Regions from separate parts of the Homo sapiens genome. Here all the other regions are linked to region 2. Evidence: promoter capture Hi-C in 16 types of primary human blood cells and fetal thymus (Javierre and others, 2016). All regions are on one chromosome and are shown on one strand. Each heading gives the region's core, a stretch centred on a gene start or on the middle of the fragment in contact. The rest is flanking DNA. Distances are from core to core; before and after follow the strand shown.

What was found. Contacts are between HindIII fragments. The CHiCAGO score rates a contact against its expected background, and 5 or more counts as called.
Region 1: a contact is called between a fragment that was not itself captured here and the fragment with the promoter of ACTG2 in region 2, in 2 of 17 cell types (activated CD4 T cells and naive CD8 T cells). The highest score is 8.8, in activated CD4 T cells.
Region 3: a contact is called between a fragment that was not itself captured here and the fragment with the promoter of ACTG2 in region 2, in 9 of 17 cell types (activated CD4 T cells, naive B cells, total CD4 T cells and 6 more). The highest score is 12.4, in activated CD4 T cells.
Region 4: a fragment that was not itself captured here is called in contact with the fragment with the promoter of ACTG2 in region 2 in 4 of 17 cell types (activated CD4 T cells, naive CD4 T cells, naive CD8 T cells and 1 more); the score reaches 5.8 in activated CD4 T cells.

Annotation. Positions count from the first base shown.
Region 1 is chr2:74,043,733-74,047,123 of GRCh38, reverse strand. TET3 (tet methylcytosine dioxygenase 3) reads right to left here. Exons shown (of 12, transcript NM_001287491.2): 4 at 1-846. Among named protein-coding and RNA genes, the nearest start is that of TET3, 61 kb to the right of the region's middle. The HindIII fragment of the contact is 7,830 bases long and covers 1-3,391 here.
Region 2 is chr2:73,890,924-73,894,676 of GRCh38, reverse strand. It overlaps ACTG2 (actin gamma 2, smooth muscle), which reads right to left and starts at 1,669. Exons shown (of 9, transcript NM_001615.4): 1 at 1,626-1,669. RefSeq lists an enhancer at 1,780-2,593. The HindIII fragment of the contact is 3,877 bases long and covers 1-3,753 here.
Region 3 is chr2:74,134,250-74,137,492 of GRCh38, reverse strand. It overlaps BOLA3 (bolA family member 3), which reads left to right. Exons shown (of 4, transcript NM_212552.3): 4 at 1,835-2,093. The coding sequence ends at 1,900. It also overlaps a transcript of TET3 not described here. Among named protein-coding and RNA genes, the nearest start is that of BOLA3, 12 kb to the left of the region's middle. The HindIII fragment of the contact is 961 bases long and covers 1,121-2,081 here.
Region 4 is chr2:74,062,926-74,066,572 of GRCh38, reverse strand. All of the region lies in intron 4 of TET3 (tet methylcytosine dioxygenase 3), which reads right to left. Among named protein-coding and RNA genes, the nearest start is that of TET3, 80 kb to the right of the region's middle. The HindIII fragment of the contact is 707 bases long and covers 1,480-2,186 here.

The DNA of each region.
Region 1 (3,391 bases), core at 757-3,256, 150 kb before region 2:
CCGGAGGTAAGACTGGGGAGATCTGAAAGGGGCAGGAGGTGACAAGGCCTCAGGAAGGGGGCAAGAAGCCTGGGGGGTGGAATGAGAAGGCTGCGGGAGGGCAGAGGAGAGCTGTGTGAGGGCCTCAATGGCAATGGCGGTCTGCAAGCTGATGTTTTTTTCCTTGGCAATGCTCAGGGCACTCTGGGACAGGGGCAGGCCCTCTTGGGGAGAGATCTGGGGCACCTCTGAGCTGAGGAGTGGCCTGGTGCTTGGTGCTGGGAGGCCGGCCTCACCAGGAGGCAGAGGCCCTGGGAGCCTGGGCCGCTCCTCCCCTCCTTCCATGACCACAGACTTGATCTTCCCCTCCAGCCACTCGAGGTAGTCAGGGCATTCTGGGCCATCGCAGTTGCAGTTGGGTGGTTTCATACCATGCCGCGCGAGGGCCAGGGCCGTCTGCAGTGTGTCAAGGTCTTCGCTGCCAGCAGAGCAGCCCTCAGGCCCTGGCCGGGGTCCCCTGCTGTTGTTCCCAGCCTCACGACTCATCTCACGGTTGAAGGTTTCATAGAGCCGGGTGCTAAGGGCCCCATAAGAGGACACAGCTTCGGCCACAGCCGAAAAGGCCACCAGATCGTGGGCATCTTCCAGGCGAGCAGTATGAGCTGGGCCTGGGGCAGCCTCCCAGTCGGGCTTTTGGTCTACCCGCCAAGGACCCCCAGTCCCCAGCAGACTGGGTCCAGCGGGCTCTCTAGCACCATTGACCGGCACCCCTGAGGCGCTTAGCTGCCGTGAGTCCCCATGGTACACTGGCCCTGAGTCCATCTGACCTGGAACAGGTCCATCAACTGGGCTGAGCTCTGAGCCTGTCTAAAGAGAGAGAGAAGGGGGAAAAAGGAAAAAAATGAACCACACTATTTGAAAAGCATTTCCCTGCTTCATACCACTCAGGTGCACATCTGACCCCAACTTTTCTTGCAAATCCTCTCTCTGGTACTTCTTGAGCCTCCAATTCATCTTCCCATGTCTCTGGTTCCCTAGGGAGCTTCACCAGCAGAAACAAAAAGAAGATCTTTAAGATATTTTTAAAGAGAAGATCCTAATGAGACATTCTTAATGTTGCTCAGAAACTTTTAGAGCCTCAGATCAATCACACAAATGAGGCTCTCCTAAAACCAGAGACACACAAAAAGGTCCTTAATTCACAATGATCAAAGTCACACTAGGACTTTATTTTGTTTTTTGTCAAGATGGAAAGAAATCCAACCAAGCCTGTGTGTACACACGTGCTCTAAGTGTGAAGTGTGGGTTCGTAGGGGTAGGGAAAGAGGAGCTTTGATGAACAAATTCAGCCTGGACCATGGGTCAGCCATGGCTTCCTAGTGGGGACCCATAGTTCTTTTCTCCCCCTAAAACTGTCCTCACTTAAGCCCAGGCTGAGCACAGAAAGCTGGCAACAGACCACATTCCCACACACAGCCCCAGGCCTGAGGGAAACGCCGATGATCTGACACAGCATGCGTTTAGCCCCATGCCAGGTCAGTCCTGCCAAAGACAAGCAAGTTGCTGCTTAGAGAAGGATTCAGGCCTCTCCCCAAGCACGAGAGCCACCACCATATACCTCATATCCCCAAAAGCACACCAAAGGGGAAGGATGAGAGGAAGAGAAAAGTGAATACAAAGATGTGAAATTGAGTTTGCAGACCCATCCCTTAGGAAAGGAAAGCTCTTCCTTACTGTAGAATGCTAAGAGAAAACACAGAAGGACTGATGGATTTAAAAAGACATCAGTGGCAGCAGGTGAAAGCATGATGAGGTACAGGATGTATACACGGTCTCAAAGCATCTCTAAAATTACATAATTACAATAGTAACTGTAGTGGAGAGATCTGGTAGACAGACACCACCTTAACCCAAATGACCAAAGTTACAATCATCACCAATACTGAGACAAAACAACACCATGTGCCTCTTGATGTAAGACATTGCGGATGACTTAACACCACTCACATAGAACTCCTGCCAAAATGTATAACCTGAATCTAATCACAAGGAAACATCAGACAAACCCAAATTGAAGGGCGTTCTAGAAAGTACCTGTATTGTTTTTCTTGACTTTGAAATTTTTTGAAGAGAACAATCTCTTCCCTTAAAAAGAACAGCTAAATGCGTGTTCATGGCTTAGACCTTAGACTGGGGAAAAGCACACTATTTTTACTTGGGACAAGTCATGAAATGTGAATATGGATGTGGATAAGATAATATTCTGTCATCCCTAATCTTGACTTGGATCATTAGACAATGGGTTATGTAAGAGAATGCCCTTGTTCTCAGGATACACATACTGAAGTATTTAGGAGTAAAGGGACAGTACAGACAGTCCCCAACTTACGATGGTTCCACTTAAGATTCTGACTTTGCGACAGGCGTTCAATAGAAACCATACTTTGAATTTTGATCTTTTCTGAGGCTAGCAACACTTTCGCGATGCTGGGCAGTGGCAGCAAGCCAGATCCCCTGGTCAACCACGCCATCACCAAGGTAAACGACTGAGGCTCCACAGTGTTCCATGCTGTTAGGGCTTTCTGGATATTGTGTTCTGTGTTTTAGCAACCCATCATGTCTATAAAATGCCTATTTTTGACTTACAATACTTTCAATTGATGATTAGTTTATTGGGACGTAACTCAGTCATAAGTTGAGGAACATCATGTACTCAATTTAATCTCAAATGATTCAGAAAAAAACCATATGCATATGGAAAAATATGTCTATACAGACAAGATGATAAATACATGAGACAAAACCTACACATTTGGGGTATGTGAAGTCCCAAGTATGATCCCTGCTATTTTTCTATAAATTTTTAAATTCTGTGAAAATAAAAAGCTAAATAAGAAATCAGTCCCTCAAGTATAACACAAAGTGTTTTATTTATTTATTTTACAGACACACTCTCACCCAGGCTGGAGTTCAGTGGCATGATCATAGTTCACTGCAGCCTTGAACTCCTGCAGTGGTGTGATCACAGTTCACTGCAGCCTTGAACTCCTGGACTCAAGCGATCCTCCCACCTCAGCCTATCAAGTAGCTAGGACTTGATGCATGTACCACGCCCAGCTAATTTATTTTATTTTTATTTTTTTTAATTTTAGAGCCTGAGTCTTGCTGTGTTGCCCAGGCTGATCTCTAACTTCTGGCCTCAAATGATCCTCTGGCCTTAGCCTCCTAAAGTGTTGGGATTATAGGTGTGAGACACTGTGTCTGGCCTCAAAGTGTTTTAAGTAGGTGGCTAAAAAGATGCCAGTGCTAAGACTGTCAGACAAGGCCATCATGGGCTCCTAAGTGTGGTGGGAAACTAGGGTTTGGGATGAGCTCTGTGGGAGGTTAGCAGAGGCCCCAGCCCGCAGTTCCT
Region 2 (3,753 bases), core at 420-2,919:
CTGATAACTCCTGGGTTGAGTGATGGGCTCCTCCTGGCCTTTACCCCTTTCGTGTACTTATTTGCTCCATGGTTCTCATCTGTTTATCTGTCTCTTCCAGTAACTGCAGAAGCCTCTCCACTGTCCCTAAGGAGCAGAGACAGTGCCTGGCCCATAATAAGTGCTCAATAAATGTTGGCAGAATGAACAAGGGGAAAGAGGAAAGATATCTCGCCCCAAGGTCATGATGTCACACGGCCCATCCCCTTTTCTCAGGCCTGGCATGTAGGATCTTACTGTTCATTGCAGTTTCTCCAGCACCCATCCCTCTCTGTCACAGGAAGCTCTTCCTCTTTTCAGCCCAAGGGTTAGTATCAGAGTCCAAACCCACATTCAAGTAATCAAAGTGAGCACTTAGAGCCTCCCTGTACAAAGTGTGGTCCCAGACCAGCAGCTTCAGTGTCGCCTGGGAGCTTGTTAGGAATTCCAAGTATCAGGCCATATCTCGGCCTACTGGAATCAGAATCTGGGGTGGGGCATGGGGCAATCTGTGTTTTAACAAGCACTCCAGGTGATTCTTAAAGTTTGAGAACTCAGGGCCGGGCCCTGACAGCCTTGAGCTGAGTGCTGTATATACGCATTCTCTCGTTTAATCCTCACACCATCGCCAAGTAGATATTATTATTCTTGCCCCCATTTTACAGGTGAGGAAGCTGAGGTCGCTCAGTAACTTGGTTAGCCTGACAGTCTGCCTTCAAGGCCTGCACTGCCACACCCAGCCTGCCTCACCTGTGAAGAGATGCTAGTGAATTCTGATGCCAAACATAGAAGTGGCCCCTTCATCTCATCTTCCTCTTAATTCTTTGTGCATGTGTTGTGTGTGTGTTGGGTGGGTTGGGGGGAGTAATGACATCTGCAAATGGGTCACAGTTGGGTGTGAGTCTTTTGGATGAGTGGCTGTACGTCTCTAGGCCTCAATGTCCTCATCAGAGGAGAATGAACTAGATGGGTCCCAAGTTCCTTCTACCCTGAAACCTCACGATGCCACAGGGCAAGTGGAATTTTCTCCATCCCCCAATGATCCTAGAGCCTTCAAGGACTGCAGAAACCCTCCATTCTCCTCAGCCAAGCACAGATCAGAGGACAGAGAGACCCACAGGGGACCTGAAGAAAATACCCTCCCATTCCCAGCACAGACATTTCATGGACTAAACAGCTCACAGACACCAGGACCACTGTTGGCTTTGACTCAAGTATTCTGAAAAGCTGCTTTTCTGCAAAGTATATGATCCCCTAAAACAGCCTCCCAGACATTCTAACCCAAGACAAAGGACATCAGGGTGTGGATCTGCACTGGCCCTGGGGAGCAGGGCTAGTAGAGACTGCAGGCATTATATCCCGCCAGTCCCCATTCTGAGGCAGGGAGCACGGTTCCAAGCTGCCCCTGCCCCAGGATGTCCCATGGCCAGATACGCCTTTTCTCAGCAGGCTGCAGTATGCTTGCAGGTGCCGCTGCCCACCAAGGGCTCTGGTGTGTGATCTGGGCCAGCGTCACAGAAGCCAGGCCAATCTGGAGGCACCTCCCGCACCCAGGAGGCCAGGCAGCCCCGGAAAGGAAGAGGTGGCAAAAGCCGTACAGTACTTACCGAGGGTATGAGAGGTTCTTCTCCCAGTGACTGAGGGCTGGTGTGTCTTTGGCATGAATACCAGAGCAATATAAAACCCCAGAGGCGGATCTTCTTTAAACAAAGTCCCTAAAAAGGCCAGCTGACGGTGTGTTAGCAATATTACCATATAAGGTGGTTTTTTCAATAAATCGCCTTGGGGGTAGGGAAGGGGGGTGGGTAGAGTGAGTTATCATTTGAAAAATGTATGCAAAAGGACTCAGTGGCAACAGCCCCGGTGCTGGTAGATTTGTTCCTTTTATGCTGCACTTGCATAAACAAAACTCACACCAGGCCTTATAAGCTGCCCAGAGTGAGACCAGATGCAGCTGTGCTCCTGGAGTGAGAACCATACCAAGAATGGCAGCGGGCCTCCTCCGTCCACACCTCCCTCCTCAGGCCCTGCTGCATGCGGCCCCTGGGTCTGCCTGGGACGCCCAGGCACTGTCCCCAAAATGGGTGCAATCATGCCTTGTCTGGCACGAGCCTGGGACCAATGAAAGCTGAAGAGAAATGCCTTCCGTACCCAGGAAAGAAATCCTGCGTGCCCTACTCACCTGCTGCACCTTGACACAAGCTCCTAACCCTTGGGCTGAGTTCTCTGAGGGTCTCAGGACACCTTAGGCTTCATTCTCTCTTGGCTCCTTCCTGGTTTTCCTTTAAATATCTCTAAATATCTGCAGACTGAGGGACCTGCTTCAGGGTTGAGGCACACCTAACAAGACTCTTGGCCTGTAGGATTTTCCACAGTCCTGTGATTCTTGAGCTGCTTCTTTTTCTTTTTTGAGATAGAGTCTCGCCCTATCCCCCAGGCTGGAGTGCATTGGTGCAATCTCGGCTCACTGCAACCTCCGCCTCCCAGGTTCAAACAATTCTCCTGCCTTAGCCTCCTGAGTAGCTGAGATTACAGGCACCTGCCACCATGCCCAGCTAATTTTTGTATTTTTAGTAGAGACAGGGTTTCACCATGTTGGCCAGGCTGGTCTCGAGCTCCTGACCTCGTGATCCACCTGCCTTGGCCTACAGGTGTGAGCCACTACGCCTGGACTTCTTTTTGTTTGTTTGTTTTGTTTTTAATTAGACAGGGTCTCGATCTTGAACTCCTGGATTCAAGCAATCCCTCCACCTTGGTCTCCCAAAGTGCTGGGATTACAGGTGTGAGCCACCATGGCTGGCTGATGATTGCTCTTCTTTGTGTAATTCATGTACTATCCCTAGGTAGCTGGTTCATTTCCCACATTATCAGCTACCAGCTCTGCAGTATTACTTTCAACTCCACATTCTCATGGTCCCCCTCCCTCACCCTGATCCAGACTAAAATGATCAATTGCCTATTGGACATCCCAATCCAGATGACTCTCCAGCTCTTCAAACTCATCCTGTCTAAAACTGAACCCTTCTTCCCTACCCTCAAAGCTGCTGTGCCTCCTGGGTTGCCAACTTCCAAGTCCACCCCTCGGCCCTTCAAGCTAGAAGTCAGTCAGTCTAGAACCCTGTGTCTCCCTCATGCTCCCACAACCACCTGGGCACCACAGCCTGGTGCTCCCCCGACCAGAAATGCCCCTCAGCTCTGTGTCCTCCCTCAATCCCTGCTGGCCTGCGCTGCCTCAGGCTCCAGTCCTATCTGGCCTGGAGTGGGGCGCAGCTTCCTGACTGGCCTTCCTGACTCTGCTTCGTCTTCAACACAGAGGTTCCCAAAGCATGGGGACCACCAGAGTGCAGCAGCAGCATGATATGGGAATGTGCTCACAATGCAGATTCTCAGGTGTCACCTAGCCCTATTGAAACAGAAACTCAGTGAATAGGCCTCAGCCATCTGTGTTTCTTAAACTTTCCCCACCCGGTGCCCAGGATACCCCCGCTTCAATAGAAGAAGCATGCATTGCATCCCTGCTAAACGCACAGGGAGTTCCAGGTGGTTTTGGGTCACCTGGTGCAATGGCTTGGTACAGGTCTGGCTTCCTCATTAACTGAAAATTGAGGCAGGAGATGGTGTGAATGAGGAGTGTCCTCTGCTGAGACAGCCCAGAGGAAAGATTTAAAAACACTTTCCTTGAGGACCTGCAGTTGTTCCCTGTGGAGAAGGAACACTGTTGTCATTGTGAGGTTC
Region 3 (3,243 bases), core at 352-2,851, 240 kb before region 2:
AATTAAAATTAGCATAAGCAAACAAAGGGAATTAATTGGCCCATGTAACAAAATTATCTGGTTTCTGGCATATCTAGATTCCTCTCTCTCTCTGAGCTTTCAGCTTCTTTCCCTGTGTTGGTCTCCTTTTCTCCTGCTAAAGATGGGCTTTCTCTCCTTGGTGGGAAACACAGTCCATGGCCACCTCCAATTAATTTCATAGCATGTTGGCCCAAGAAACAAGGCTCCACTCTCAGAAATCCCAAGGGAGATTCTAAGTGGCCCAATTTGGGTCATGTGCCACCTCGGTCCAATCATAGGCTGGGCCAGTGGCACATAATGACCTCAATATCAGACCAATTGGTGGTTCCACCAGAATTATACAATAGAGTGGAAAAGGAATTATTCCCCAAGAGAAGGAGATCACTAAAGAGACTAGAAAAGAAAAATGTCCACTCTAGTATGATTATCAGATTTTGGCCTAGTATAAAAGGACCTTATTTCTTCCTCTGTACTGATTATAAACTTGAGCGGTCCAAGCCCCACTCTGATTCTGTAACCTCACTTTCTCCCAGCACTACAGGGGCCAAATATCTATTTGACTCTGGTAGTTCCTTCAGATTTGGGCTCTGACACCATTTGTAGCCTTAAAACAAGTCCCATAATTCCTTTGAAACTTTATTTCCTGCTCTGACCATTGGGGAATTTGTGCTAATTGGTATGATTTTAAAGAACTGCTCATTTTAAAGAATGCTTGATGCTCGAAATAACAAAACACAGGAAACAGCCTAAAAGTTCGCTAGGGGACAGGTTGAAAAGTTATAATGCATTCATATAATGGAATACTATGCTGATGCAAAAAAGAATCAGGACACCCATATATGCCTAACATAGAAAGATCTCCAAGATAGATGTTTGGGGGAAGAGCAAAGTGTAGAGCAGGGGTGTCCAGTCCTTTGGCTTCCTTGGGCCACAATGGAAGAAGAATTCTCTTGGGCCACACATAAAATATACTAACACTAATGATAGCTGATGAGCTTTAAAAAAAATTTCAAAAAAAATCTCAAAATGTTTTATGAAAGTTTACGAATTTATATTAGGCCACATTCAAAGCTGTCATGGGCCGTGGGTTGGACAAGCTTGGTGTAATGTGTTTGAAATTTTAACCATTTGCGTTTTAAAAGGTCATGGGGTGAAATATATTAGCTTGAATATGCCTGGTGAATATGCATTTTTAAGTCCCTGTAAAGATACACAAGAAACTGGCCAGGTGCAGTGGCTCACGCTTGTAATTCCGGCACTTTGGGAAGCCAAGACAGGCAGATTGCTCCAGTCCAGGAGTTCAAGACCAGCCTAGGCAATATAGTGAGACCCTGCCTCTACAAAAAATAAAAAAATTAGCCAGGCATGGTGGCATGTGCCTGTAGTCCCAGCTACTAGGGAGGCTGAAGCAGGAAGATTGTTTGAGCCCAGGAGGTGGAGTTTGCAGTAAGCCGATATCGCGCCACTGCACTCCAACTTCGGCGCTAGAGCGAGACCATGACTTAAAAAAAAAAAAAAAAAAAGATACACAAGAAACTAACAACAGTTCTTTTGGGAACAAGGGTGGAAACTGGGGAGATGGACAGGTATAGGAGGGAGACTTCCCTGAATGCCTTTTTGTACCTTTGAATCTTTAAATCATGTTAGATATTATTGATTTAAAAAAAATTGTTTTTCAAAAAAAGGAAAAATTGCTTAAACAAAGCACATACAAAGTCTCCTTCAGATGCAGAGCTGTATAAAAATACTCTCAGAGAATTACTGTAATCAACGTCAAATACACAAAAACTGATGATGCTGTTTTCTTACTTAGGCACTAAAAGAAGAAATCAAAGAGATGCATGGATTGCGGATATTTACCTCTGTCCCCAAACGCTGACCACGCCCTGGCTGCATAGATGCTGCTGCTTAAGACCTTGGATGAACTTCACTGACATCATTCTTCCCTAAGCAGTCACCAAAAAATTTATATATTTTGCTCATATACATTTCCATATTATAATTATAGAAGATGTATAATCTATTTAGATGTTAATTAAAGGAAACAAACAACTGAAGCTTTTGAAGGGTCATTAGTAATGTTTCAGGTTCCTTTATTTTGGCCAAAGGGGTCTTGTCTTTAGACAGTTCTGTCCTGCTACAGAGAGAGAATGCAGTGCCAGCTTTTTGTCTTTTGAAGAGGTTTTCCTGTTTCTTCCCCTCCACGAAACTGCTCAGGCCTCTTCATCTTACTGAAACAAAGAAAAGATCCTTTACTATTGCTGTTCTTTTCGTTTATCATTCTTTTCTTCCCCCTCTAAACTTCTTACATGAATGATCTTGGACCCTCAATTTCTTATGCTCTGAAATGGACTCTGAAAATTTGGGGGTGCCAGGATCCGGGTTCTTTTCCTGTGTTTGAAGATCCTCCACCCTTTGATTCTTGGTAGGAGGCAGAGCCCACCTCCCACGACAGAAGCTGAAAAGGCTTACTTTCCCTGCCTCCCTCACAGCTGAGGCACAGGCAGATATTCCAGACTCAGCCAATCAGATGGACCTGCCCTGAACTTGGGAGCAAGTCACACCGAGGAGCAGGGACAGTGGGACATCCATTCCTGCTGCAGCCATGGCTACAACATCTGGTGTTCTGGATGGTGGTAGTGGCAGCTGATTGAGTACTATAAGCTGCTCTCTCTGGAGTCCATGGTGGTGGTCACGGTGTCTGGGTCTGCAGTGTGATTTGGGCTCCAGCCACGGAGGCTTCCTTGTCCCTGTTTTCAGCAGCTGGCTCGCCAGTTTTCTCAGACATCTTGTGACTGCCCCCACAGACTTTCACTAAATTATTTTCTGCTCCCATCAGCCAGCACCCATGTTACCATGGCAGTGGGAGGTTGACCATCCACTCCTCTCTCACACTCCTTTGCCTTTCATGGAACCGACCACCAGAGAAGTTAGGGGTCACTATTGGTTCTGAAGGTACCTCCCTAAGAAATGAGGACATGAAGATATAACAACCTTGGGCCCCAGATTTTTGAGGGCAGAAAAAAATTTCAAATATTCTGTTCATACATTGTGCCCCCGTTTTGTAATTTTAAAATATTCTCTATCTGCACAGTGGGGTTGGGAAGGATTGGTACCTGCCAGGGCAGAACTGCCTCTTACAAGCAGTAGAATCACTCAGTTGTATCAGAGCTGAGAAGGTTGGGACAAAACAGAGAACTGTGCCTGAAGGCCCGAGCCACC
Region 4 (3,647 bases), core at 584-3,083, 170 kb before region 2:
TGAGTATAAGGGAAAAGATATTCTAGAGAAGAAATCTGACAACAAAGTTGCTGACTTACAACAAAGTTATCAAACTAGTATACATGTACAAATTTAATTATCCTCATATATGTTATATGAAGATATATATTACAGATACTATAATCTTCTGTGCATGCATATGTGTAACATATATATATACACTACCACCATCGATTTCTTGTTATGTAAATGTCTCATTTTCAAATAGTTTTCATTTTATATATTGAATAAATGTTATATACGGTACTTAAAGGATCCTGAGCTAGGAACTAAGATATTAAGTGTCTTATTAAGCATAACATAAAGGAGATACAAATATAAAAATCAAAGAAGTAAAACCTCTGTACTGTTAAGTCTGAATTATAAATATCATTATGAACTCGGGTCCTGTCCACTGGAGAAACATAAGAGCAATGACATTCTAGTAGCTGTAAGTACCCCTAGCTCTCTGGTTTTGATTTCTAAACACCATTATCCCTTAAAAGGAACCAGGTGGGCCAGGCGCGGTGGCTCACACCTGAAATCCCAGCACTTTGGGAGGCCAAGGCAGGCGGATCACGAGGTCAGGAGATCGAGACCATTTTGGCTACCACAGTGAAACCCCATCTCTACTAAAAATACAAAAAATTAGCTGGCATGGTGGCGGGTGCCTGTAGTCCCAGCTACTCAGGAGGCTGAGGCAGGAGAATCACTTGAACCTGGGAGGCGGAGGTTGCAGTGAGCTGAGGTCGCACCACTGCACTCCAGCCTTGAGACAGAGCCTCGCTCTGTCTAAAAAAAGAAAAAACAAAAGAGAAGAGAAGAGGAAAGGAAAGAAAGGGAAAGAAAAGGAAAGAAGGAAAGAAAGAAAGAAAAAGAAAGAAGAAAAGAAAGGGAAAGAAAGAAAGAAAAAAGAAAAGAAGAGAGAGAAAGAGAAGGAAGGAAGGAAGGACGGACGGACGGACGGACGGAAGGAAGGACGGACGAACCAGGTGACCAAGCCAAAAAAAAAAAAAACAAAAAAAAGAAATCAGGTGGTCTTGGAGAAATGGTTAATTCAAGGTCTGAGGCAGGAAAAGGATGATGTGCCCTGGATATTTCTTGTTGAACAAAAAGCAAAGAAATGATCAAAGAATGATCTGGGGTGAGGTATGTCCAAAGACCACAGGAGCTGGCCTGAAGGGGCATCCCACTGGCCAAATTTGGGACAATCTGAGCAAGAAGAATGACTGTAACTAAAACTCATTAAATATATAAATATTCATTAGTCCATAATGATGCTCAAAAAAGAGAAAAGAGGAAAAAATAACAAACACTCCTTTGTCCTTGAAGGTGACTATTCACTTCATTTTCATTTTAACTGCTATAATATGCATAATTTCTATGAGTTACCATTAAAAGATAAACCTTGTCACTTAAACCATGGCAATACTATACATAATCACTTTCACTTTTTATCTCATATTCATTGAAAAAGCTTTTAGACTTGCTTAGATGGATCTATCACTATATATACATAAAAAGAAAAATATAAGCTAAATGCAGTAAATGAGTTGCATGTTTTACAAGAATACAGTTGACTCTTGAACAACATGGAGGTTGGGGCACTAACTCCCAGTGTGGTTGAAAACCTGCATATATCTGTTGACTTCTCTGAAACTTTACTAATAGCCTACTGTTGACTGGAAGTCTTACTGATAACAGATAATTAACACATAGACTAGTATCTACATATATTTTATGTATTTGTGACATATTTACCATTTATTAATAAATTTTTTCAATATTTCTAGGCTATGCATTTTGTCAGTTTTTTCAAATTTTTTACAAATCTCCAAAAAGCGTTCCAGTATATTTATTGAAAAAAAAATCTGGGCCAGCTGTGGTGGCTCATGCCTATAATCTCAGTACTTTGGGAGGCTGTGGTGGGCAGATTGCTTGAGCCCAGCCTGGGCAACATGGTGAAACCCCACCTCTACCAAAAAACAAATAAACAAACAAAAATTAGGCAGGCGTGGTGGCACGCACGCCTGTAGTCCCAGCTACTCAAACGGCTGAGGTGGGAGGATCACTTGAGCCTGGGAGGCAGAGGTTGTAGTGAGTGGGAATCACACCACCGAACTCCAGCCTGGGAGACAGAGTAAGACCTTGTCTCAAAAAAAATAAAAAAGAAATGCTCAGAAGCTTAGTTTCCATGTTTCTACACACAATAACTTTGTTTCAATACTGAATCACACTGTACTCTTTTTGAAGACAATTTAAACAGTATTTAATCTTAACACACATAATACTAACAATATTCATAACTCACCGAGATAACAATATGAAAAGCTATGACCAAATTCATGCGTGTATACGGGTGCCATAATGGCTGCCTGGCCAACAACTAGTATAAGACATCATTGATTATAAGCTATATCCCGACTTCAGAGAGCTTTGAGATGCTTTTTAAGTAGTATAAAGCCACATATGCTCACACTTCTTCCAACTGATGAAATGTGATATTAAGCCAACTCTTATATTCTGACAATTGGTAATTAAGGGGAAAATTATGCATTATCCTGGCTTTCTTACTTAGAAAGTAATCAAATGAAGAACAGCACTTTTTTTGGTAAGAACTCTAAAGATAAGATCTACCCTTCTTTCAGAATCTATTTTACTTATTTTTTTTTTTTTTTTGTCTGCAGAGATGGGCTTTGTTGCCCAGGGTGGTCTCAAACTCCTGGGTTCAAGTGATCCTCCCACTTCGGCCTCCCAAAGTGCTGGGATTGCAGGCAGAGGTATTGCACCAGGCCAGATCTGCCCTCTTAAACTTTTAACTGCACAATATGGTATGTTTAGTATGCTGTACAGCAGATCTCTAGAACTTACGCATCTTGCATAACTGTAACTTTATACCCACTGAACAACTCATCTCCCCCTCCCCCATCCCTTAGCAATCACATTCTATTTGCTACTTCTATAAGTCTATTTTACAAAAACTCATATAAGTGGAATCATGCAGCATTTGTCCTTCTGTGACTGAATTATTGAGCATCTTTCAGGTTTTGTAAGGTATTAAACGTAAAAAAAGGATGGACAGAATTAGAATATCATCAGTTTGCAATCCCTAATGAAAAATTAACTTACACAAGGATCATCAGTAGACATGATATGACTAAAGATTGATGGGGAACTGGATAATCACATGGTGGTGAAGTATTGCCTGACAAATTATTTGCTGGACACAAAGGGGAAAACATAACTTTATAATGGCAAGACCTGGCTCTTGCTCTTACCACCTTAACCTAGTGACACCTGGGCTTCACCAACGGTGGGACAATTAGACTTCTCAAAGTGATCTTACATGAGAAGCCTGGCATACTCCATTAAAAAAAAAAAAAGTTTCAGGCCAGGCATGGTGGCTCAGGCCTGTAATCCCAACACTTTGGGAAGCTGAGGTGGGTAGATCACTTGAGGTCAGGAGTTAGAGACCAGCCTGGTCAACATGGTGAAACCTCATCTCTGCTAAAAATACAAAAATTAGCCAGGCGTGGTGGTGCACGCCTGTAACCCCAGCTACTCGGGAGTCTGAGGCAGGAGTATGGCTTGAACCCAGGAGGCGGAAGTTGCAATGAGACGAGATCGCGCCACTGCACTCCAGCCTG